Regions from separate parts of the Homo sapiens genome. Here regions 1, 2, 4, 5, 6 and 7 are each linked to region 3. The links are contacts of gene promoters, found by promoter capture Hi-C in blood cells and fetal thymus (Javierre and others, 2016). All regions are on one chromosome and are shown on one strand. Each heading gives the region's core, a stretch centred on a gene start or on the middle of the fragment in contact. The rest is flanking DNA. Distances are from core to core; before and after follow the strand shown. Region 1 overlaps TMEM131 (transmembrane protein 131). Region 2 has its middle 37 kb from the start of ZAP70. Region 3 holds the start of CNGA3 (cyclic nucleotide gated channel subunit alpha 3). Region 4 overlaps TSGA10 (testis specific 10). Region 5 overlaps TMEM131 (transmembrane protein 131). Region 6 overlaps TMEM131 (transmembrane protein 131). Region 7 overlaps TMEM131 (transmembrane protein 131).

Region 1 (3,551 bases), core at 287-2,786, 530 kb before region 3:
AGTATTAAACTACTATTGGTTAAAGTACAATAGAAAATGAACATGTCACTTCCCATTTATAAAAAGTTGTAATTCTAGAAGTGTTTATGAATTTATAAAGGAATATAAAGAATTCTGTTTCGAGTGTCAAAATACTTTAATAATAGGCCACAATCACTTACATATTACAAACAAATGTCAGAAAGGAAATGGTTCAAATGATTTAAATAATATTTAAAAAATCAGATTTTTGAATCATTAAGTCTTCATTTAAGCCCAAATCCTATCATCCCACTTACCCTTTTCTTCTAAAAAAGTAAAATATAAACAAAATATAGGAGGTTTTCTCTTTTATAGTTGGGGCTGTTCTTTCAAAAAATAATTCCATCAAGTTTATGTGAACGTGGCTAGTATTTCTGCAGGTCATTTAGCAGGAAAATATAATTTACTGATTAGTAAAAAGTAATAGAATTTATTTTAAAAAGAAACTCACCCATCTAAAACTTCTGCTTGATATGGTATTTCAAGTTTAGAATAACTCTTTTCCTTTGCTTTAACTGTTATTTTCCCAGAAAACTGAGATGGCTTTTTTGCCTTCGATGCTGAAAGGAAGCATAAAAAATAATCTCTGTTACCTTTTACTACCAAAGAGAATTAGTGAATTTATGTAAATTGACAAAATCTTAAAAAAAAAAAAAGTTGAGCTTCCAAATTGGCCAACAGAACACTTTTTATAACATTTTAAATGAAACATCACATTTTTCATACAAAAGGGGGAAAATGTTTTATATTTCCTGTAATAAGATAAGCAGATAAGGAATTAGCTGGTGAGCATGGTTCAGGAGGTAAAACACTGTACCTAAGCTGCTTTGCTGTAGCCACAGGCTTTGGCTTTACTTACAGCAGAATTTCTCATCCTTGGCACTGTTAACATTTTAGGCCAGATTAATTCTTCGTTGCGGAGGCTGTTGTGTGTACTGTAGGATGTTTAGCAGCATCCCGGACCTCTACTTGCTAGACGGCAGTAGCATCCCTGCAGCTGTGACTACCAAAATGCCTCTCTGCATTGCCAGATATCCCCTTGGAGGCAAAATTACCCCCCACTTAGCCCTGCTGATTTACACTTGAACTGAGAAAGAAATAACATTTCTTGTATGGCCAAAGTCTTGCTCTATCACCAATAAAGTAGCATGGTATAAGAAAAGTCAAGAATTCAGAGCTCTTCTCAAAAACCAGCCAACCCTAAAACTCATGGTATAAGAGGAGATAAATCCCCTCCTGTCATCATATTATATTGTCCTCATCTTAGATGAAGTAAAAACTTCAGATTTCATAGCAGTTTTGAATAATCCTGGCTGGGTGCAGTGCCTCACATCGGTAATCCCAGCACTTTGCCAGGCTGAGGCAGCCAGATCACCTGAGGTCAGGAGTTCGAGACAAACCTGGCCAACATGGTGAAACCCTGTCTCTACTAAAAACACAAAAACTAGCCAGGTGTGGTGGCACGTGCCTGTAATCTCAGCTAGTTGGCAGGCTGAGGCAGGAGAATCGCTTGAGCCTGGGAGGTGGAGGCTGCAGTGAGCCGAGATTGCGCCATTGCACTCCAGCCTGGGCAACAAAGCGAGACTCTGACCCAAAAAAACAAAAATTAAAAAATAAATAAATAAATAAGGAATTACAGAAATTGATTCAGTTGGGTCCAATCTAGGTACCCATTAGATGGTTCTTTTCAAAGCAAATAAAGAAGCTGTTTATGTTTATCCTCTTAGAGTACTTTAGGAACACTTCCATTTATGTGAAGAATTCATATGTGAGTTCCGCAAATGTGTGTCATCCAACCTCATGACAAAAAAGAACAAGGAAATGGTATGACATCTAGTGTTTGACTATGGCAGACACAGACTTTCCATTTTAAAAATTCCCATTCAGCCTCTTATTTCTCTGCTTGCTAGTTAGCCATCTCTGGATGCTTTCAATTTTTCACTATTTGTTCTGACGTAAGACTGATTACAAGGGCCACATTTAAGCATTTCATGACATTGTATCATACATAGCAAATAAAGTGGTCAAAAAGCTCAAGAAAATTCTGTTGAAAATCATGAAGAATAACTTTTGATGAGAAAGATGCTTGATAAATGAACACTGCAGAGTTAATACATATATAAGGTGCATTCTAACAATATTAAAAGTTAAATAACACACACTTCCTGACTGATTTTCACAGCAATCTCAGAGGTATTTTGTGTGGGGATCCAGCATGGCAGTGGGAGAGGTGAATGGTGGGGGGATTTTCACATGATATTAAAAACCTACTTTTAAGAAATGTAGCATTTGCTCTTAAAGATGCTTTCCCTTTGCTGTTGTTATTTAATTTTACATATTTCTTTAAGAAACAATTATCTTAGAGCCTACGATCTCAGAAGAACCAACACTAATGACATCGCATTTATCTCAAGAAGGGAAAGATTAAGTGGGTGGTCAATACAGGAGCTAGAGAAGAGTAGCTCTTCACCCTTGCAGAGCAGCTCTTCACCCTTGCAGACCATGTGGAGAATTTTCCGGCACATCTGTGAAGGGTGGGTCCTAAATGCTCTTATCCTGGCTGGGTGCAGTGCCTCACGTCGGTAATCCCAGCACTTTGCCAGGCTGAGGCAGCCAGATCACCTGAGGTCAGGAGTTTGAGACCAGCCTGGCCAACATGGTGAAACCCTGTCTCTACTAAAAATACAAAAATTAGCCGCCTCCTCCTCTGTAAGGGAAGACAATGTACCTCGTGATACTGACACTGGTAGGCATGAATGTGGTCTCTCAGCAGCATAGAGAACACTTTACCACAAATGTAGAAATTACTGTGGCATTAATGTCTTCTATAATACTATTTCTTGACAACTGTATCATGAAGTATGCTGCCTATGTGATTTTTATTCCTTGAGAGTCCTCACTGAGCTCACAGGATGAACCCTGAGGCCAGCCCCACCTCCGTAGCTGCTCCAGACCCTCCCTAGAACTCTCCACAGTGAGCAGCAGGCATAGATACTCTCATAAACACTGTGTGAAGTGTGCCAGTGTCCTCCTACATTCATTGATCAAATATTCTCATCCGATGAGGAGCTGAGCTTTACTATGTGGACTCTGAGCACAGATGGCTTTATCATAAAGCCAAAGTTTAAGCTTAATAGCAGCTACTCAGTTGCATGGGTGCCTATGAAAAAAGCCCTGTTCAGAGGTTCAATTCTCATTTAATTATCTGTATGGTTAAGCAGCCATTAAGTCATTATTTTAAAAATGTTGTGACAGCAAATTCAATGAATGTTCCAATTAAAGTAGGCAAAACTAAATAAAAACATGCTATAAAAATGGTATAGTCTGGCTTAACACCTCAAGTATCAAAATGTATACTATACACATTAGAAATAATAGCTAACTGGACAATTCTGTCATAAAGTCTATTATTTTAGCTTAAGTAGGGGATCTGCTTTGCCTATAAAAGCCAATATATGAAAATGTTACAAAGAATACTTTTTATTTTTGCTCTCAAATTCAAACATGTTTCAGAACTTCAAATATATTGT
Region 2 (3,120 bases), core at 492-2,991, 600 kb before region 3:
TGCGCTGTCTGTGTGGGAAAGGAGGGAGATGGGAGTGCTTTTCCCAAAAGGACGTTTATAGAGCAGGGACAAGGGAATGATGGCAATAGGTCTTTCTAGGCAGCAGCAAGCCCTGCTGGCTTTGGAGTTCCGGGTGGGCAATGACTGTCAGGGGTCAGGTCTGTGAGAGTTGCTAGGAGCATGCATTCTGCAGAAGCGGGAGGGGACTGACGGCAAAGGAATTAAGTTACAGAAGGATCCTGAATGCATGAAAATTTGCAGCCCCACATTGCCTTAACTGGAAAAGGAGGTGGTGCTTTGTGGGCATAGGAATCTGATGCAGCCTCCTCTCCCTGCTGCAAAATATCTGGCTGGGAGGAATGGTCCAAATCCAGTCCCTCTAAGAACCTTGTCCCTGGACATGCTGCCGCAGTTCTGCTGAGAGGCGGGGCTGAGGCAAACGGGAGCCCAGGCTGGCGGTGGACCCAGTGGTGAGGGTGGGAGGGATGAGGGCGTGGGAGGAGGGGCCCCAGGCAGTGGCAAGGAGCTCAGGAGGCTCCAGATTGGTGGCCTCATGCCCCCTGCCAAATGAGTTCCATCCCCATCAGGAAGTTGCCATTTCTAGGGGTTTAACACTGGGAAATGTCTTTGGAATACCACAGTAACAGACAATAGGAAGTGCTACCACTTATTTATTTGGCCTCATGTTTCACACCATCCTCCTGAGGATGTTTGTTTTGCATATAGGGAAACTGAGGCTCTGAGAGGGGCAGAGTGTGCCCAAGGGCCATGATCAGTAAATGGCAGAGCCAGGACTGGAACCCAGGCCACACTCATCCATGCCACTGCACTCATGTGTACACCCAAATGGTCAACGCCCTTCCCCGCAGTGCAGCAGCAACGCACCGCAGTTAAAGCAGCTGGGCTTGTTGCTCCCTGCAGCAAGGGGGACCCAAACAACAGTGAGCTGGGGTGTCTCCTAAGAGGGTGTCAGGAAGTAGCAATTGTAGGATGTGGGCCTTGGTTATTAGCTTATTTGGGGGGTGGGTCTATGGAGTCAGGGGTTTGCTCTGGAGTGGAGGCTGGCTCAAGAGTGTCTAATGAACGCAGTCTATAGTTACACCAGAGTTAACAGTTTTTTCCTGTCTGTTGTAAAGCGAGTTGTTGAATCGCATGATGAAAGAAATGGTGTGCAGTACCATCTAAAACTCTAGACAGGAGATACTAGCCAACCATTTACAGGTAATTACGAGAAACGCAAGGACTGTTAGTCCTCGTAACAGGTCTGCAAGACAAGGGCCTAGAGCGCCTCCAGGTAATGGGCGCATGTTCCAGAAGCCAGCTGGGTTGGCTTTAGAGGTCAAGGCTTTTTCTAATAGTCACAAACTGTCCTGTTCCCCTGTGGTGTTTTTCTAGGTATAAAAAAGGAGTATTTGTTATGGCATGACCTGTCCCTTTGCTGGCTAAGAGGAAAATAAAGCTTATATGACTGTCCTTGATAACTCTAAAGAATGGACTTAGATTAGTCGGTTGGACTTTCAGAGCAGAGTGGTCTCGTTTATGGCTTCAGCTAAAATTACCAACTAGTTTTGAACTCTCTCTCTAGTCGTTTTATTCCTTTGGTGGGAACTGGAGTTTGCAGAGTATGCATGAAGAGCAAATCAAGGATCGCTACTGGAAGGTTTTGGAATCATCTATGATAATTTTACGCTGGATTGCTGGGTATTCTTTCAAAGAATGGATTACTGGAGACGTGGGTGTTGTAAATATCTGAACATATCTAACCACTCTGAATATACATGAGTGTGTGGCAGACCAATATAAGCCTGACATGGGCTAATAAGATGTAGTGTCCCACTGAAGCACAGATCGTATGGGGAGCATATTATTATAATAGCAATAAATTTCGTGTCTTTGTGTGCCTTTTGTACAGAAGCTGTAGATCACGTAGAGGCGGGTGTGTTTTGGATATACTGTATAGTTCATATTTATGTTGAGATAAAGCTGGAAATAAAATGTAATCATGTAGAATCTAAGATGGGATGAAGCTTCAAACTGTATACAGTGGCATGTTATGAATTCATAAGAAGCAACATGGGACCTAGAGGTGGTTGATCGTATAATGCTAATGGTAATTTCTTAAGATGTAGAATTTTGGAGGTTTCTGAGAGGTATGCTATTTTTAAAAAAATTCCATTAGTTCTGTTTTTCTAGAGGACTGGAGAAAACAAGGACAGTGAAATCTCTGGATTAAAGGCACAACTTCAGTGTTTCTTAATAACAGTATGTCTTAGTCCCTTTGTGTTGCTGTAAAGGAACACCTGAGGCTGAGTAATGTGTGAAGAGGTTTATTTGGCTCAGGGTTCTGCAGGCTGTAGAGGCAGCAGCATTGGCTTCTGCTGAGGGCCTTGGGCTGGGTGCACTCCTGGTGGAGGTGAAGGAGAGCCCCGTGCAGACCACACGGTGAGAAAGGGAGGAAGAGGGAGGTGGGGGAAGGTGCCAAGCTCTTTTCAACAACTAGTTCTTGTGGGCACTAAGGGTGAGCACTTAGTCCCATGAGAATGGCACCAAGCCATTCACGAGGGCTCCATCCCCTCCACCAAGCCCCACCTTCCACACTGGGGATCATATTTCAACAAGAGACTCAGCAGGGCCAAACAAACCACAGCATTGGTCTGGAAAAAGGAGTATCTCTGTCATTAGAAGTAAGTGGGGATTTTCCAGGTTGGAAAACAAAATCAAGCACTTTTTGTCACTCTGGCAGGGAAATTTTCAATCCACAGTGAATATAAACAAACAATAACCAGAATGTATTTATAATCCACGGCAGAAGGCATTTGTATGGAGTCTACTTGGAGGGGTCTGAAGGGCCTTCAAGCTCTCCAGTTCCTGCTCACGTCTACATTTAAATGTTTTATCAGGATTTCATTCACAGGGGGATGTTTTGTAACCATTATTGGCAATACCTCTAAAATTACCTGGCTTAATTAATATTGTTGCCAATTTATTTTTACAGCTATCTAATTATGGGTAACATCATGAAGAATTTTTGTTAGATTCCACTATCACCTTTTTTCATGACATCAGCTGGCCCTCCTAAGATGTAAAAGGCATCAGAACTTTCCCCATTTTCTTTTTTCA
Region 3 (3,091 bases), core at 351-2,850:
TCCAAGGGGATTTTTCAGGATGATGCCTTAAAATGATCTCATGATCACTACTATTTACTCCAAAATCAGGATTTAAGATTCTTTTGAAACTCTGAAATGTTTCTGGACAACAGAAAATAATCATCTGCTTCCAGTCTTCCCTGAGGACAAGCCAGCAGGAAACAGCTTTAACTTGTTGCATAAATTAATGAGATTAGAAGAAATAAAGCATTTCCTGACAATGAGAACTATAAAAAAAATGCACATAACAACTGAGGCACGTGGAGATTCATAATTGAGGCACGTGGAGATTCCCTGGAATAAGAATACTGAAGTCCTCAATGAGGCAAAGTCTCATCTATTATATTTTCTCTTGAAATTATTATAATTTCAGGTTCCTTTCAGAAGCCCAAGTAATAAAATAAGAATTCTCCTCTCTTCCAACTTCTGTGGCTTTGGCTTCCTTTTGTTGATTCACCACTTCCATTTATTTGCTCTTCCACTACCAGAGTCCCTTGAATCTGAACGACTAAGCCTGATTTTCTTTGGGGGAAAATTTGTCTAGGTTTTACTTCCCCCCTTTAAGACATGACATGTGTGCACACATGCACATGTGTGTGTGAGCCATTCTAATTCTTTATTTCTTCAGTGAAAAACATACACTTCATCTCTCCCTTCAAGTATTGCATGAACTCGATGAACTTAAGCCTTCTAAAGATAATGTGTTCAATTAACAGGCGATTTGATAAGTATGCTAGGAAATGCCATGTACTCCAAGTCCTCAGAGAAGCTCTGGTTAGCTGGCTGCGGTGGGATCTGCTTTTGTGGAGTTTCTTCCCATGAGGGTATCAGTCAAGAGAACCTGGAACCCAAGAGGCTTGTCCCAGGCAAGGAGGCTTGGATTCCTCCCGGGACCTGCTCCTGCGATCCAGAACCAGAGCATGCAATTGCTGGTGAGGGAAAGGCAGGATTCGGTCTTCATCCTTCATGGAGAGGTGTGTTCTTGGAAGTACACCTTCTGGGAGGAAAATGAGTTTTAGTAAATAAAGTTATTTTCTCCAAAAAGAGTTTAAGTTCCTTGGGCTTCAATAGGGGTTAAATAATTACTAGCTGGATTGGTGGTTTTAATTTTTAGTTCAGGAAATCCGATGTTATCTGATGTGATGGAAGGAAACAAAAACTCTGCAAGGAGAATACACATTGTCCCAAAGAGAAACTTGTTTCTAACATCTTCCCTAAGATGGCAAACGGGTCCAAGACTTTGTGCGTGTGTGTGTGTGTGTGTCCCCACCTTTAAACTTCAAACCCCAGATCTCTGTTGCTTACTCATCCAGTGTGGATTACACTACCAGCAAAACATCCCAGGAAGGAGTCCAGGGTGGCCGCCCACAGTTAGGAGAGAACCCAGAACGGAACGACGGACTTGTTTGCTTTCTTGCCCCTGACTCTCCCCGTCCTCCCTGGGAGGGTTGGGGATGTGAACTAATGACTTCTGCCTCTTTCGGACCGCCTTTGAGGCTCCAGAGCCTCACCTTACTTTCCCACGGAGAGGGAGGCCACAGGCTCCTTCAGCAGTCGCCGAGCAGAGTCCTGGGCCGGGAGCGCGGGGGAGGGAGCGAGCGGAACTGCGCCTAGGAGGCCGAGGGAGGAGGCGCTCCGCAGACCCTGGCGCGCCGCGGAGAAGCTCAAACTTTGGCAGGGTAAGGATTTTTAGGGGCTCTTGAGCTGGAATTTTTTGGGGGGCGCCGGGAGGTGTGCTGGGGCCGCAGACCCCATACAGGAGGTAAGTTAGAGAACCACACGCAGGGGAGGGATGCTGCTGCTTCCAGGGGCGGGCGCGGCGCTGTCCGCAGCCCCCGGTGCTGAAACGGGCCGCGGGCTGGAGAGAAAGTGAAAAAGGATCGGCTACGGCCTCGGCTCCCACTCCCCGGCTCCCATACCCCTCCAGTCCAGTTCAAAGGACAGGAAGCCCTCCCCGTGCTCCCCAAGCCGATCGCACCCCCTTTTACTCACGTCCCACAGCCGCGCTGGGCCGAGCCCGCTGAGCCGTCGGGGCGGGAGGCAGAAGGAGCAGGGCTGGCTCCCGCTGGGGACGGGTAGGGCTTGCAGCCGCGACCCCACCCCATACATTTCCTCCTGTCACGCTGTCCCCGGACCGCCAGTCCGGGAAGGACCCACTTCCCCGGCTCCAAGTCGGGAGCGGGCGCCGCGTCTTCTCGAGTCCGCGCCGCGCCGGGGGAGGTTGAGTCAGTGGCCTGGAGGGAGCAGGGCCGGGGGAAGGCAGCGGCGAAGGACTGCCCCCCAACCCAGGGGACTATTTTCCCTTGGGGATTCAAAGAGAAAGGTAGGCTGAGGAGGAGGCGAGAATTAAAATTCTTTTAGGAGTGCGCGGTTACTTTTTTTAATGATAAAATCACACCCGGGATCTCGGACGCCCGGGGCTTAGTGCTCGGTGATGGAGGAGAAGGGGCGGCGGGCTCTCTGATCCTCTGCAATCCCCTAACCGGATAAAGGCGCCGGGCTCCCAGCCGTCAGGCTTTTCTCTTTAGCTCAGCCCGCGGCCCCTCCCGACGCCCCTGGGGGCCTTGGCGCGCAGGCCCTCGCAGTCCCGCAACCCCGGGCCGGGTGATTCATTTTTCTCCCTGTGTAATCTCCCTACTGAGCGGCGCAGCTGGGACTTTAACTTCGGCCCTCTGCAGCGGGGGTCTCCGGTTGGCGCGGCGCGTGAGGGAGGATGAATGGCGCTGGAACCTAGAGGACCTGGAGCCGGCGCCCCGGCCTCTTTGGCCTGAACCAGGTGCCTCTGACACGCAGTCCGCCGGCTCAGGCCTCGCCGGAAGCTGGCGGGAGCAGTCCCTTGCAGCGAAGCCCGGCACCCCGACGGCAGACGCTCCCCATCACATCTTCCAAAGGGGCGAGGCTGGGATCAGCAGGAATGGCACCCACCCGGGTTCAGACTCCATCCCGGAGTGGACAGCTCGGTGCCCCTAACATTATGCACTGTCCGCCACCCCCTCCCCCCAACACATACACACTTTCATTCATGAAAACCAGCAAGAATAGTGCTGTCTGGGCACGGAGTCCAATGTACAGCGTGCGTTCACGCTGAGAA
Region 4 (3,273 bases), core at 354-2,853, 670 kb after region 3:
GAAACTGGCCCTGGCTCTGAAGCCCTTGCCTAGTCAGGGGCTCCTAGGAGTGGCTGATTGCTGAGACCATGCTTCTTATCCTTCCCCATGTCCTGACCTCAGATGTGAGGACAGAGTGGAGGCTGGATGAAAAGTGTTACAGATGGGACAGGTAAGAACAGGGGTTAAGGGTCCCCCATCAGTTTTTATGAGAGATGATCAAGTTTAATAGAAAAAAAATTCACTATACAGGGAGGCAATTCCACCCAATTCTCCAGCCAAATGTCTTTTAATAAGGTGCTAGGAGTGCTAGAGATCCTAAAGAAAAGAAAAAGAAAGAAAAGAAGCCAAAATCAATGTCCTGGGAAGTCTTCTGTATTTTGTGAATGCAGGTGTTCTTCTAGGTATCCAGTACATGCAATAGGTACAAAAGAAAATATGATGTGGCAAATGCAAACACTAGGTTGCAATATATTGGTCTAAATATGAAAATTCTTCTGGTTTCAAACTGGTTAATTTTTTTTCTCATTTTGTTATATTTCCTAAAGGCAGTATTTTAGATCAGACATTCTATCATACTCAAAACTCTGTTGGAAAGAATCAGTAGAGATCATTAAACTTAAATTTAGATAAGAAAAACATAATAGAAAAAGTACCACCTCTTAGGCAAATCACAGTATTTCTGATCCTTAGGCAAAGTATAGAAGGCAAATTCTCTAAATTCTAGCTTAAAATTTCTACTAAAGTACCAAAAAATTAAGATGTATGACTTTACTTTATATTGCTAAACAACTCACATTTTATTTTCTGCCAAACAAAGGTGTTCTTTAAGAAGCTGAATTTCAGATTCTTTTTCTTGAAGTGCTATCTGAGACTGATATTCTTTGTCTCGATTGGCCACCAGCAAAGCTTCTAGATTCTGCATGGAGATTCTCTCATTTGCCATCTGACTCCTCAGGAGTTCAATTTCAGAATGAGCAGAATCTAACTCATTCTCCCTCTGTTCAATAACAAGAAGATATCTACACTTATTCCCATTAATTCACTTAACTATTATATTATCAGGGACTCACAAAATTTTCATAATCTGTTATAAACTGGCAACTACTTTTAATGTGATTTGAAATTGTGTCCCTCCTTCTTACCAAATAAACACACCACACATGTATGTATAGTATCACTTTCTCCATCTCTCTGATCATATCAGAAAATTCATTAATTTAAGAAAAGGCTTATTAATTTCAAACTGCAACCAGTTTCTACTACCAGCTTTGATATTTCTTTATATACTCCTGCAAGACTGACAGGATGATATCTGTGAGCACTGCTTTGTCCTGAGTTAGGTGAGCTACATGCTTATAGAATGTCATTGGACTCCATAATTAAGGAATATAAGGAGTAATCTCTTATATTCTTATATAAAGAGTAATCTCTTATAGTCTCTTAATATAATTAATAATTATATTTAATAATGTAATTAAATATAATTATAATTAATATAAGGAGTAATCTCTTATATTCTCTTGCATAAACTTGTGGAAAGCTTCCTTTAGAAAATTATCTTGAGCCTTAAAATATGCTCAGTGAGACAAATGTTTTTTAAAAAGGAGGAAGAACAGTCACTAGTATTTAGAAAACAATTATTCCTTATCTTGTAATATACATAACAAATTCTATATGCATTTAAAAGTTAAATTTGAAAAGGTAAGCTTTAAATTCCAGTGAAAAGAAATAAAAATGAAATTACATGGAAGGGAGATAGGTAGGTAGGGAAATTTTCTAAGCTAGATACAATGCAAAAAAAAGTTTCATCACATTAAAAAAATAAACATTTTGATAGTCAATATAAACTTAACCAAAATTTGAAAGGAAACAACTGGAAGACAAATAAACTTAGTAAATCAAATTAATAGCTTATATCTCTACTAACATAAAGAACGCATATAAACTGATGAGAAATATGAGCTAAATGATAATGATCAGAAAATTTACAAAAGGAGAAATACAAGTAAATTATAAACGTATGGGGAAAATTTACCCTTACTAGTAATCAAATAAACTAAAACAAGATGCTATTACTAGTTCAGGGCTTCTTACCTCAACATTACTGATGTTTTGGGTTGGATAATTATTTGGAGTGGGGGCAGCACTATGCATTACAGGATGCTTAGCAGTATCCCTGGCCTCTGCCCAATCAACGCCACCAGCATTCCCCACTCTAGTCATGACCACCAAAAATGTCATTACTAAATGCACACTGGGAGCAAACTCTCTTTCAGCTGAACTGGAAAAACTCTACCAAAGACACTGTTCTAGTCTATCTAGTCTATTCTAGTCTATCGCAAATTTGTTAGTTTGTGTTAATGAACATTACATTGGGCAATGGCAATCTCATATACTTTGCTGGCAGGAGTAGAAAATGGACCGTGATTTTTTTGACAATAGCTTTTTTGAAATATAATTCACATGCCATCAATGATTTTTAGCATATTAACACAGTTGTACAATCGTTACCACAATCTAATGTGAGAACTTTTTCATCATCCCAAAAAGAAACTCAAGGTTGGGCATGGTGGCTAACACTTGTAATCCCAGCACTCTGGGAGGCCAAGGTAGGTGGATTGCTTGAGCTCAGGAGTTTGAGACCAGCCTGGGCAACATGGTGAAACTCCATCGCTACAAAAAATTCAAAAACTTAGCCAGGCATGGTGACATAGGCCTGTAGTCCCAGCTACTCAGCAGGCTGAGGTGGGAAATTGCTTGAGCCCAGAAGTTGAGGATACAGTGAGCCAAGATGGCACCACTGCACTCCAGCCTCGGCCACTGAAGGAGACCCTGTCTCAAAAAAAAAAAAAAAAAAAAAAAAAAAACACCCAACACAGAACGTTCTCTGGCCCTAGGCAACCCCTAAACTATTTTCTACTATTTGCCTTATTCTGGGTATTCCATATAAACGGAAACAAACAATGTGTATGCGGTCTTTTGTGACTGGCTTCCTTTATTAGCACAATGTTTTTAAGAGTTATCGATGTTTTAGCAGGATCAAAACTTCATCACTTTTATTGCCTAATAATATTCCATTGCATAGATAAACCACAGCTCTATTCATGAGTTAAAAATATTTGACTTATTATACTTTGGGACTATTATAAATAATATTGCCATAAAAATTTGTATACAAGTTTTTGTATGGACATGTTTTCATTCCTCTTGAATAGATAGAAGTGACATTTATGAGCTGTAAGGCAATCTAATTTTTAACATTTTGAGGAACTGACAAAATGTTTTACAAAG
Region 5 (3,403 bases), core at 282-2,781, 580 kb before region 3:
ATGAGGTGACCCAGAGCTAAGTTCCTGGTTACTACAGGGAGTGGGCTAGGATGAATTTTCTTCCTTATTCTTGAACTCAGGGTTAATCTTAAGCAAAAAAATTAAATATATTTTTTATTGATTTATTTAGAGTGACGCTTTCTGAAAGATATTGAGGTAAGCTTAAGATAATAAGCATGTATAAATATATCTTAAGTTTCCAAAGCTCAATAAGTGAGGTAGGAAAACCTGCTGGGAGACAGCAGCTGGAAAGAATGAATCTCTGAGAGAAATGAACTGGGTAGCTGGCCCATGGAAGACAGCATTGTGAGTAGAATACCTATATGGGCTACAAAGGCATTCTTTATGAAGCCACATCTCTAATGCCCACCAAGACCATGTCTGGGACTGGGAGGACCTCCGGAAGGAGCTCAGCTAATGTGGTCCAAGAAGGACCTTTTCCAGCAAAGGCTGAGATGCAGCTCAGAGAGCCCAGTGGCCCCTTTGGAGAAATCTTCCAAGAATCCTCAGGGATCTCTACAGAGCTCCTGGTGACAGCTGTCAGTTCAGGGCTGAGCTGATGGCTAGCTTTTCATTCCAAATCTACAAAGTCTACACAGATGGTGTAAAATGGATGCATCGCCGGCATTTTCCACATTTCAGTGTGCTTTCTGCTCCCAACCCTCAAGTGTGTGATACTACTCAGGACTCCCGGCCCCATCCTCCAAGTTCTTCACGCACCATGTTGCCTTCTGTCCTCCCAGCCCACAGGATACAGTACATTTCAGCTAGGTTCTGGGTCAGAGGCAATCTGCTGTGCTCATTCACAGGAGATTTCAAAGGTGAGAAGAGTTCCAACTTTCCCGATCTAACGGCACCATAACACCCTCATTCCCCAACATCCTCAATGTAAAGTGTGAGCTCATAAATAAACAAATACATTTAAGAAGGCTATTTACAAACATTTTATAAGGTGGTAGGGTCAAAGGACATTTTCTTTTGTTTCGTTGTATTTCACAAGTAGGTATTATATAATAATAAGTAGGTATTATATCTGGAATTAGTAAGAGAGCAAACCAAAAAGCCAAAGGGTTTCCGTTAGCCCAAATAACTAGAATTTTAGGTAGGATAACAAACTGAAGTGAAAAATCCACTGTTTATGGGCCAGATGATGAATGCTACATTATAAAATCTTTTGTATCTCTTCTACTTCTGACTGACAGGGTTATTTAAAAAACCCATCTTCTAAAAAAACCCCAAAGGCTCCCATAGTAGACACCAGCCCTCTGGTGGTGGAGGTGGTGTGGGTGTGATCTATTTTTAAGTGTGCGTGGGTAGCTATTTATACAAAACTAAATTCTGTGCCACTGTAAAAGTAATTGGTTTTTAAGAAGAAAGGTGCCAGACAACTCCTGTTATTTTTGCTGATTCATACTTTCCTAAATTAAGCCAGATGATCTCTATCAAGAATCCTTTTTTAAGGCTTCTGAATAAAATGGGTAACGGCCAACTTAATTGAAGCGATTCATTTTTTTGAGACAGAGTCTCACTCTGTCACCCAGGCTGGAGTGCAGTGGCACGATCTTGGCTCACTGTAACCTCTGCCTCCCAGGCTCAAGCAATTCTCCTGCCTCAGCCTCCTGAGTAGCTGGGATTACAGGTGTGTGCCACCATGCTTGGTTAATTTTTGTATTTTTAACAGAGATGGGGTTTCACGATGTTGGTGAGGCTGGTCTCGAAGTCCTGACCTCCGGTGATCTGCCGTCCTTGGCCTCCCAAAGTGCTGGGATTACAGTGGGATTACAGGTGTGAGCCACCGTGCCCAGACTGAAGTGATTCTTTTTAAAAAGGAAAAACAGGTGGTTCAGATGCCAGGCTTTATTTATTTATTTACTGACAGGGTCTCAGTCTGTTGCTCAGGCTAGAGTGCAGTGGTGCAATCACGGCTCTCTGCAGTCTCTAACTCCTGGGCTCAACTCCTGAGTCTCTAACTCCTGGGCTCTATGCAGTCTCTAACTCCTGCCTCAGCCTCCCTAGTAGTTGGGACTACAGGTGTGTGCCATCACACCTGGCTAATTTAAAAGAAAAACTTTTTGTAAGATAAGGTCTTGCTATATTTTCCAGGCTGATCTTGAACTCCTGGGCTCAAGCAATCCTCCTGCCTTGACCTCCCAAAGTGCTGGGATTATAGATGTGAGCTACCACACCTGGCTTATTTTTATAATATATTTTCCTCCATTTTTTAATAATAATGTTTTTCTTTTTCTTAATATTCTGAGATTTCGTATTCTTTTTATTTTTGCTTTTCACAACGTTACACCTGACTCAAGCCTGGCCTATTTTTATTCCTGTAATACACAGTACACATTTCTGTCTGGGGAGGAGAGAGGCAGAGCTGAGGACACAGCTAGGGACATGACCAGCTGTGGAGCAGGGTTTTCTGAGTGCTGACAGGTCTGGGGCTGGCGTGTGCAGTGTGGTGTTCACAGCCCTTGGGCCTGAGTTGAGAGTGTTATTTAAGCAGATTTTTACAGATAATATGATTAATCTACTTCTTTTGCTTATTTTAGATTATTACATTTATGTAAACATATACTGTTGATAAACAAATAGAAAAACAAAAGGATCAGTGAATACTCAGGGTCCTAAACCAGGGATGCCCTGGGCCCTTCCTGGTTCTGCAGAAACCTTCAGTGCCTGAGATCTGATTCCCATTCCTTGGCATCTCTGCCATAGACTACAGTTTTCCGGAGGTCTGCAGGCCCATTTCTATGTTGCCACAGCTGGAAAACACGGTTAGATCAGATTTCTGTTGCTGCAGCCCCACCCTCCTATTTCCTAGCAAGTGATTTTTTTGAGGTCAACTCTTGGGAGTGTGGATGGATGGGGCTGAGCCACTCCTCTGGCTTTATCACCTCTCACAAAGCTTCCGAAAGACAGCAATGATATATGCCTTATTAATGACATATCTTATTAAAAGATGTGTACCTGTCCTTCAGACATGTGGGGTTATATATTAACACACTAAAAGGTGACAGGAATTTCAGGAATCACTAAAGCTAGTACTGGCTGTGATTCTGAGTGACAGTGTTTGACATTTATTATCAGAATGCAGTGGAGTCACAGAATGGCTCTGTTCAGAAAGCCAACCTTCTCCGGTTATTAAAAAAACCAGTCTTTATTTGATTAAATGATTGATGAACTAATAAATTCTGACTCAATACTTTCATCCTCGAGTTCAGAAAAACAAGAGATCAGTGAGTTTAAAGAGATCAGATAAAGGAGGATAGAAGAAAGGTTGCATATAGATTTCTCCAGTTACAAAAGACAGTTTCAAGCACACGGCTTGATTTGTGTTCTGGTAATGATTTATCTTTTAACTACATATTGAGAGAGCACCGGTTATTGCTATAACTGCCCCTTG
Region 6 (3,058 bases), core at 420-2,919, 560 kb before region 3:
ATTAAACTGACTCAGAAAAACCAAAATGGTACATTCCTTTTGGGGAAAAGTTCTCCTTAGTCTGGCAACTATTAATCTCCTCCATTTCTACAATTTTGTCATTTCAAGAATGTTACATAAATGGAATCATAGTTGCCAGACTAAGGGGTAGGCTGAAGAAGGAGGGAAGTGAGTGTGGCTAGAAAAGGGCCCATGAGGATTCCTGTGGGCTTGGAAATGTTCTGTGTCTTGGCTGTATCAGCATCACTATCCTGGGTATAGTAATAGTGTACAGTGGTTTTGCAATGTGTTACCATTGGGAGAAACTGGGTAAAAGGTATAAGAGATCTCTGAATTTATTATTTGCACGTGAATCTACAAGCATCTCAAAATAAAAAGCTAAAAAACAAGCAAGTGGCCAGATACGATGTGGCTCACACTTGTAATCCCAGCACTTTGGGAGGCTGAGGCAGAGGGATTGCTTGAGCCCAGCATGAACAACATAGGGATACCCTGTCTCTCCAAAAATAAAAATAAAAAAATTAGGCATGGTGGTGCATACCTACAAGTTCCAGCTACTTGGGAGGCTGAGGTGGAAGAATCCCTTAAGTCTGGGAGGCTGCACTGGGCTGAGATCACACCACTGCACTCCAGCCAGTGAGACTCTGTCTTAACAAAACTCCCAAAAACCAAAAACCAAAAACTCTTTATTGACAAAAACATTTGTCTCTGACTGTGGGGTACCTTGGGGCTAACCTCAGTGTGTGGAAGAACACTTAGGCTGCTAAATGTTTAGTGTAGAGAACCACCCACTAGCTATACTTACCCATGGTCACCATAAATGCTGTGCATGTGGGGGTGACTGAGTGTTCATCTGAGAGGCACGGTGTAGGTGAGGAGCTCTCATTCAATGTGAAGATGCTGGGTTTGACGGGGGGCCGACAGAAAGGATCTATGTGAAGAACATTGCCATAGTCTCTGTAACAGAGCCACGATATCCGTTCTACTATTCGATGTCCTCAGATTCAGGCAGGAATTTAATGCCAGCAAACTGTTTTTTCCAGATGAACTCCTATGCCCCCTTTTCCTTCAGAACTATATGACATTTTTCCTCAACCATAACTGCCAGAAAATTTGCAGTTCAACTTAACACTTAATGGTAACAACTAACTTTATTCGAGGTTTCTGCTGATAGTACCGTAACTAAAAAACAGATGAAACACCAAAAACCATTTCTGACTTTTATTCATTGTTTTATATGTGCTATGATAATTTAAACTGCCTCTAATCTGTTTTAAATGTAGGCAAAGTATGAATTATCTATGTAAAAAGCATGTCCTAGACATTTACTTCGTCTTTATCTTCACTACATGCTGTGTAATGAATTTGTCTGAGCTAGGTGCTCTGAATGAATCGTTAGTCTGAGCTAGTTAGTTGCCTCTCTCCCACTTTAAATCATTTCATTTAATTGCCACCCAAAAGAACTATTTCAGGGAAGTTTCAATCACTAGCAAATGGGTTCTCTGAACATATGTGGTCCCACGTTAGGCCCTGTCATATCAGTGACAGCACCTGAGAGGGACATCTCTGGACAACCTCCAGAGAATCACCAACTGTGACCTCCAGAAAGAATTTCCCCAGGCTTCAGGGGTGCTGGCATCACACTTACGGACTTCTTCTTTTCCTGGACCTCCCATTGTCTGGGCCCCAGGCCTTATACAGGTGGACAATCTCTTATCTGTAAATCTGAAATCCAAAAAACTCTCAAAGGTTTTTTTCCCCAAACTCATTTAGAAACAAAACTTAATATGACTATATATTTTTGGTGGCTGCTGATGTTCACCTACTTTTACAGTCTTCTGCATCGTGTGGTGCATGACTACATACCTTTCCAAAATTCTGAATTCTCAAACACACGAGGCACCCAGAGTGTTGCATAAGGACTGTGGACCTCACCTCTAGCTCACTCTGACATCCCATTTCCAAGGCTGCACCTACGAACCTGGTATTGCCCAGAACTGCTTTTCCTCTGAAACCTTACACTCACACCTCCTTTTTAAACCTTAGTCTCCTAACATTCCTTGCTCCCACCATCCTCGAAATTCAATCTGTTGGATTTCCCATCCCTTGACTCATCCATGTTCTCTATCTGTGAGGTTCCTTCTGGCTAAAGGTCCTTCCCCAAGTTGCTAATTCGACACTGCCAGCACAGCACCCCACCGCTCTCCTGCCAGCACTCCTGTGACGTCCTCACTCGCTGTCTTTTTGCTGTCCCTGCCCCACAGAACTCCAGCACTGTCCTACTCCACCAACTACCCAGTTTTCATTCTTCACCACTGGGCTGCAGGGTACAAGTGAGAAAGTGACACAAACCTGAGGCAGTGCCTCAGTGGCCCTCGGCTGGGCCTCCAATGTTGCTGAAGGGGCCAGCGTACAGATCCAAGTTTCCTGCCCCTGCTGACTCCCTGGGCCTACAACATTCTCAGCAACGTGGAATCTGACTATTCCAAACTTTGTCTATTTTGTGTTTCTACCCTACCACTTCCCCCAGCAGTCTCAGAGGATGACTTAGTTCAAGTAAAAACTTCCCTAAACCCACATGCTGCCTCAAGTTGACTCCTCAAGTTCAAGTGAAAACCCGTATCCTGCCTCTCCATCTCTACCAACTCACGCACATCTGCACACCTGCGGACTGTCCATCCTTTTATCATCTACCAAACTGGGTCTCGGCCCACTCCACCACCTGGGCACATGGTTTCACCAATTATCTCCTCATTTTCTTCCCCCTCCCTCTTTTTCTTCGAGGAGGCAGCACAGTGCAGGAGTTAGAATCACACAGACTGGGTCTTGCTCCCATTCTGCCCAGCGCTGCCTTACTGGAAAACCGTAGCAAGCAGTGCCAGTCACCAGGGTGCACGAGAAATTGTGGTCACGTCTGAAACCTTGGCAAGTGTGGATCAGCACCACTGTCTCAGCTCTATAGGCTTTCTGACCTTGGCCCAGAGATATTTTCAAGCACCATGTTTCCATGTATTATTCATTTTTCATAAAAAATATTGCCTTCTTGGTTGTAACTCTC
Region 7 (3,258 bases), core at 549-3,048, 510 kb before region 3:
CCATCATTTCTCAGGCTGATTGCTAAATCAGATCCCAAGTGGTCTCCTTTGCTTTCTGCCCTTCCATGTCTGTAAGTTCACTCTCCACAAAGTAGCTACAGTGACCTTTTACAACACATAAATCAGATGATGTCACTCTCGTTTAAAATCCTGTAATAATTTCCCATTACACTTAGAATAAAATCTAAATATCTCCCAGAGTTCCAGAGAGCCCTGATAAACAGTGAGCTTGATGGGGTAGGGAACCCCAGTGGTCTGATTCACTGCTGTATTCTCAGTCAGCATAGCAGCTAGCATACAGTTGATGTTCATTAAATATTTATTGAATGGGTGAATGAAGGCGGGAATAAGAGAAAACTACCAAAACACTGGCAGAGTTTGGGCTTTGGATATTATAAAAGATACACACATAGGTAGGTACAGATGTAGGTACAGATGTATTATATTAACAGATATATAGGTTTTTAACAGAAATAGACTATGCAATTAAAATGATATATTCATAAAGATGTGATTGCTAAGTGACACTGTATAATATACTTTCATGTTTCACATACCTCTTTTTTTTTTTTTTTTTTTTTTTTTGAGACAGTCTCGGTCTGTTGCCCAGGCTGGAGCACAGCGGCGTGATCTTGGCTCACTGCAGCCTCCACCTCTGAGGTTCAGGCAATTCTCCTGCTTCAGCTTGAGTAGCTGGTACTACAGGCACATGCCACCATGCCCAGCTAATTTTTGTATTTTTGGTAGAGACAGGGTTTCGCCATGTTGGCCAGTCTGGTCTTGAATTCCTGACTTCAAGTGATCCACCAGCCTCAGCCTCCCAAAGTGCTGGGATTACAGGCGTGAGGCCACCATGCCTGGCCTATTTTTGCATTTTTTATAGTTGTGTAAGTCACTTCCAAAAAAAAAAAAAAAAAAAAAAGCAGCTCTAACTCAGCTTTCCTATCTAGAAAACTAGGACCACTGCACCATATAGGTATTAAGTAATACATTTATTACATAGCAGTACTAGCATAGTGCCTGACCCAGTAAGAGCAAAAATGTTCACTTACAATATATCCTAAAACTCCTTAGTGAATAAGAAAAAGGACAAACATGGGCCTATTTAATTCCATGTCATAAGTGACCTGAGTACTAGTTCTTCATTCACATTCTTAGGGTTAATTGCCAATTTCATTTTCCTATAATATGTTTATTGAAAAAGATACTTGTTTCAGTCCATTTATTGTACGTAAAAAGTTAGGCTGGTTTGCTTGGGCTAAGTAAAGGCACTTTCCCATCTAGGAGAAATGCTAGGTCAGATATGAAGACAATGCCTGCATCCCGGTCCCACTAGTGAGGAAGGTCACTGCGCATCAGAATGTGGTTACCTGGGAAGACCATCTCTTGCTTCCTCGCTGGGGTTTGTATATTCTTCTCTCTTTGGTCTACTCCACCAGCTGGTGATAAAATCTGGGTATGGCCATCGATGGACAAAGGTCCCTTAAATCTCAAGCCCACATGATCTATATTTCATTTTGTCAGTTCACTGAAGTTAAGTTTCTGGCATCAGCACAAATTATAATAAAAATGTCCTATTTTCCTATATAATGATTACACATGTATATATCTTGGGGACCTCATCAGGGAGAGACGTTGTGGGCCAAGGCAAAACTTAGATATCCCTTTTTTTCCTAAAACTATCTAACGGCACCTCAATTCCATATGGCCTAAAAGTTACTTACTCTGTATGTATGTGTGAGGGAGAGAGGGCCTTAGTTTATAATGTGCTGCCTACGGTAACTCAATAACTGCTAGTTAGGGAGCCTGTGACAAGTGTTAACAGCACTTTACCACTACCTACAACATTTTTTTTGCTTATTTTCTTCCCAATTCATCTGACTCTTCTTCCTCTTTCCTGCCCATACCTTAACTCCAACAACCAAATCTGATGAAATCCTTATAACCTGTTTTTCTATACACATGGCCCACAGATTTTAGGATTTATCAGAACAGGCCTTTTATATGACTGTGCCTGTATAAGAAACTCATGAACTTTGGTTCAAACTTACTTTGAAAAGATTGCCCATTTCTCTCTCATCCTTAAAATCCGGGTGGCTGGGGCAGAACAGGTTTCTCACATCACACTTAGAACCAAAGTGTCACCAGGTCATCACCAAATATAATTATTTTAGAATAAGGGTTTAATTATTTTTAACTTTGTCATACATTTAAAAACAAAGAATATATAAATTAGGGGAAAAAAGAAGTAAAAACTTACTGTTATTGGTACATCTTTTGTTCCTGAATTTAATAAATGAAGGTTTAAAACTTTTGGTAGATCTGTTAAAATTGAGGAAAAGAAATATTTCTTAAAAAGGTGCTTTTTAGCCAAGTTAGAATCTTTACCTTATAAGATATCAAATTGAAGCTATCAATTTGTGAAATACAATGACAATAAGATTAATAAAAAGAAACATTAGGTGGTAATTGCTTTACTCATAAGGACATTGTGTATTATAAGAACTGTTCCCTCTTAAACCAGATTTTTGAAAACCCCAAAATATATACTTTTTTTTTTTTTTTTTAAATGAGACAGAATCTTGCTCTGTCACCCAGGCTGGAGTACAGTGGGGCATTCTTGGCTCACTGCAACCTCAGCCTCCTGGGTTCAAGTGATCCTCCTACCTCAGCCTCCTGACTAGCTGGGATTACAGGCATGTACCACCATGCCCAGCAGACTTTTGTATTATTTTTTTAGTAGAGATGGGGTCTCGTCATGTTGGCCAGGCTAGTCTTGAACTCCTGGCCTCAAGTGCCCTGCCTGCCTCCACCTCCCAAAATGCTGGGATTATAGGCATGAGCCATCATGCCCAGCCCCCCAAATATTATTTTTTTGTGAAGTCAGACATTACTAATCTTTTAGCTTTCCAGCAAAACATAATGAAGCAAATTAATAATTTACAATGTAAAAATATACTAACAGCAAATCTAATTTTTAAACATATGGTCTTCAATCTTAACTACATATTATTATATATAGTCCATATACATCCCAAATTACAAGTGCTCTTAGTTTTTCCTTAGCAAAAATCTTTACTTAGTTGTTTTTAATTTCAGAATTTGAGTTTTCTGAACAGCTGCAACAAACTTTCAACATTTTGTCAAAATGTAATTTAATAACTCATATCTAAACAAAATCCAGAAGTAAAAATCAAGATTCAGCGTAACTGAACTGATGAGCAACTGGATTAAGAAACTAGAAAACTATTTTCTGCC

What was found. The method cuts DNA at HindIII sites, captures the fragments that hold promoters and counts their contacts. A CHiCAGO score of 5 or more calls a contact.
Region 1: a contact is called between a fragment that was not itself captured here and the fragment with the promoter of CNGA3 in region 3, in 12 of 17 cell types (M0 macrophages, M1 macrophages, M2 macrophages and 9 more). The highest score is 13.2, in M0 macrophages.
Region 2: a contact is called between a fragment that was not itself captured here and the fragment with the promoter of CNGA3 in region 3, in 10 of 17 cell types (monocytes, M2 macrophages, M0 macrophages and 7 more). The highest score is 12.4, in monocytes.
Region 4: a fragment that was not itself captured here is called in contact with the fragment with the promoter of CNGA3 in region 3 in 5 of 17 cell types (non-activated CD4 T cells, total CD8 T cells, naive CD8 T cells and 2 more); the score reaches 9.3 in non-activated CD4 T cells.
Region 5: a contact is called between a fragment that was not itself captured here and the fragment with the promoter of CNGA3 in region 3, in 10 of 17 cell types (M0 macrophages, monocytes, naive B cells and 7 more). The highest score is 11.7, in M0 macrophages.
Region 6: a contact is called between a fragment that was not itself captured here and the fragment with the promoter of CNGA3 in region 3, in 11 of 17 cell types (M0 macrophages, monocytes, M1 macrophages and 8 more). The highest score is 12.0, in M0 macrophages.
Region 7: a fragment that was not itself captured here is called in contact with the fragment with the promoter of CNGA3 in region 3 in 5 of 17 cell types (monocytes, M1 macrophages, total B cells and 2 more); the score reaches 8.0 in monocytes.

Annotation. Positions count from the first base shown.
Region 1 is chr2:97,814,727-97,818,277 of GRCh38, forward strand. It overlaps TMEM131 (transmembrane protein 131), which reads right to left. Exons shown (of 41, transcript NM_015348.2): 13 at 473-581. Among named protein-coding and RNA genes, the nearest start is that of ZAP70, 100 kb to the left of the region's middle. The HindIII fragment of the contact is 3,223 bases long and covers 1-3,148 here.
Region 2 is chr2:97,749,355-97,752,474 of GRCh38, forward strand. It overlaps a transcript of ZAP70 not described here. Among named protein-coding and RNA genes, the nearest start is that of ZAP70, 37 kb to the left of the region's middle. The HindIII fragment of the contact is 568 bases long and covers 1,458-2,025 here.
Region 3 is chr2:98,344,856-98,347,946 of GRCh38, forward strand. It overlaps CNGA3 (cyclic nucleotide gated channel subunit alpha 3), which reads left to right and starts at 1,601. Exons shown (of 8, transcript NM_001298.3): 1 at 1,601-1,679. RefSeq lists an enhancer at 2,101-2,612. The HindIII fragment of the contact is 4,952 bases long and covers 1-3,091 here.
Region 4 is chr2:99,019,504-99,022,776 of GRCh38, forward strand. It overlaps TSGA10 (testis specific 10), which reads right to left. Exons shown (of 21, transcript NM_025244.4): 18 at 777-979. Among named protein-coding and RNA genes, the nearest start is that of CRACDL, 85 kb to the left of the region's middle. The HindIII fragment of the contact is 166 bases long and covers 1,521-1,686 here.
Region 5 is chr2:97,767,095-97,770,497 of GRCh38, forward strand. All of the region lies in intron 33 of TMEM131 (transmembrane protein 131), which reads right to left. Among named protein-coding and RNA genes, the nearest start is that of ZAP70, 55 kb to the left of the region's middle. RefSeq lists an enhancer at 3,020-3,403. The HindIII fragment of the contact is 2,744 bases long and covers 160-2,903 here.
Region 6 is chr2:97,785,868-97,788,925 of GRCh38, forward strand. The region is part of intron 31 of TMEM131 (transmembrane protein 131); the gene reads right to left. Among named protein-coding and RNA genes, the nearest start is that of ZAP70, 74 kb to the left of the region's middle. The HindIII fragment of the contact is 5,728 bases long and covers 1-3,058 here.
Region 7 is chr2:97,831,105-97,834,362 of GRCh38, forward strand. TMEM131 (transmembrane protein 131) reads right to left here. Exons shown (of 41, transcript NM_015348.2): 11 at 2,261-2,322. Among named protein-coding and RNA genes, the nearest start is that of ZAP70, 120 kb to the left of the region's middle. The HindIII fragment of the contact is 5,024 bases long and covers 1-3,258 here.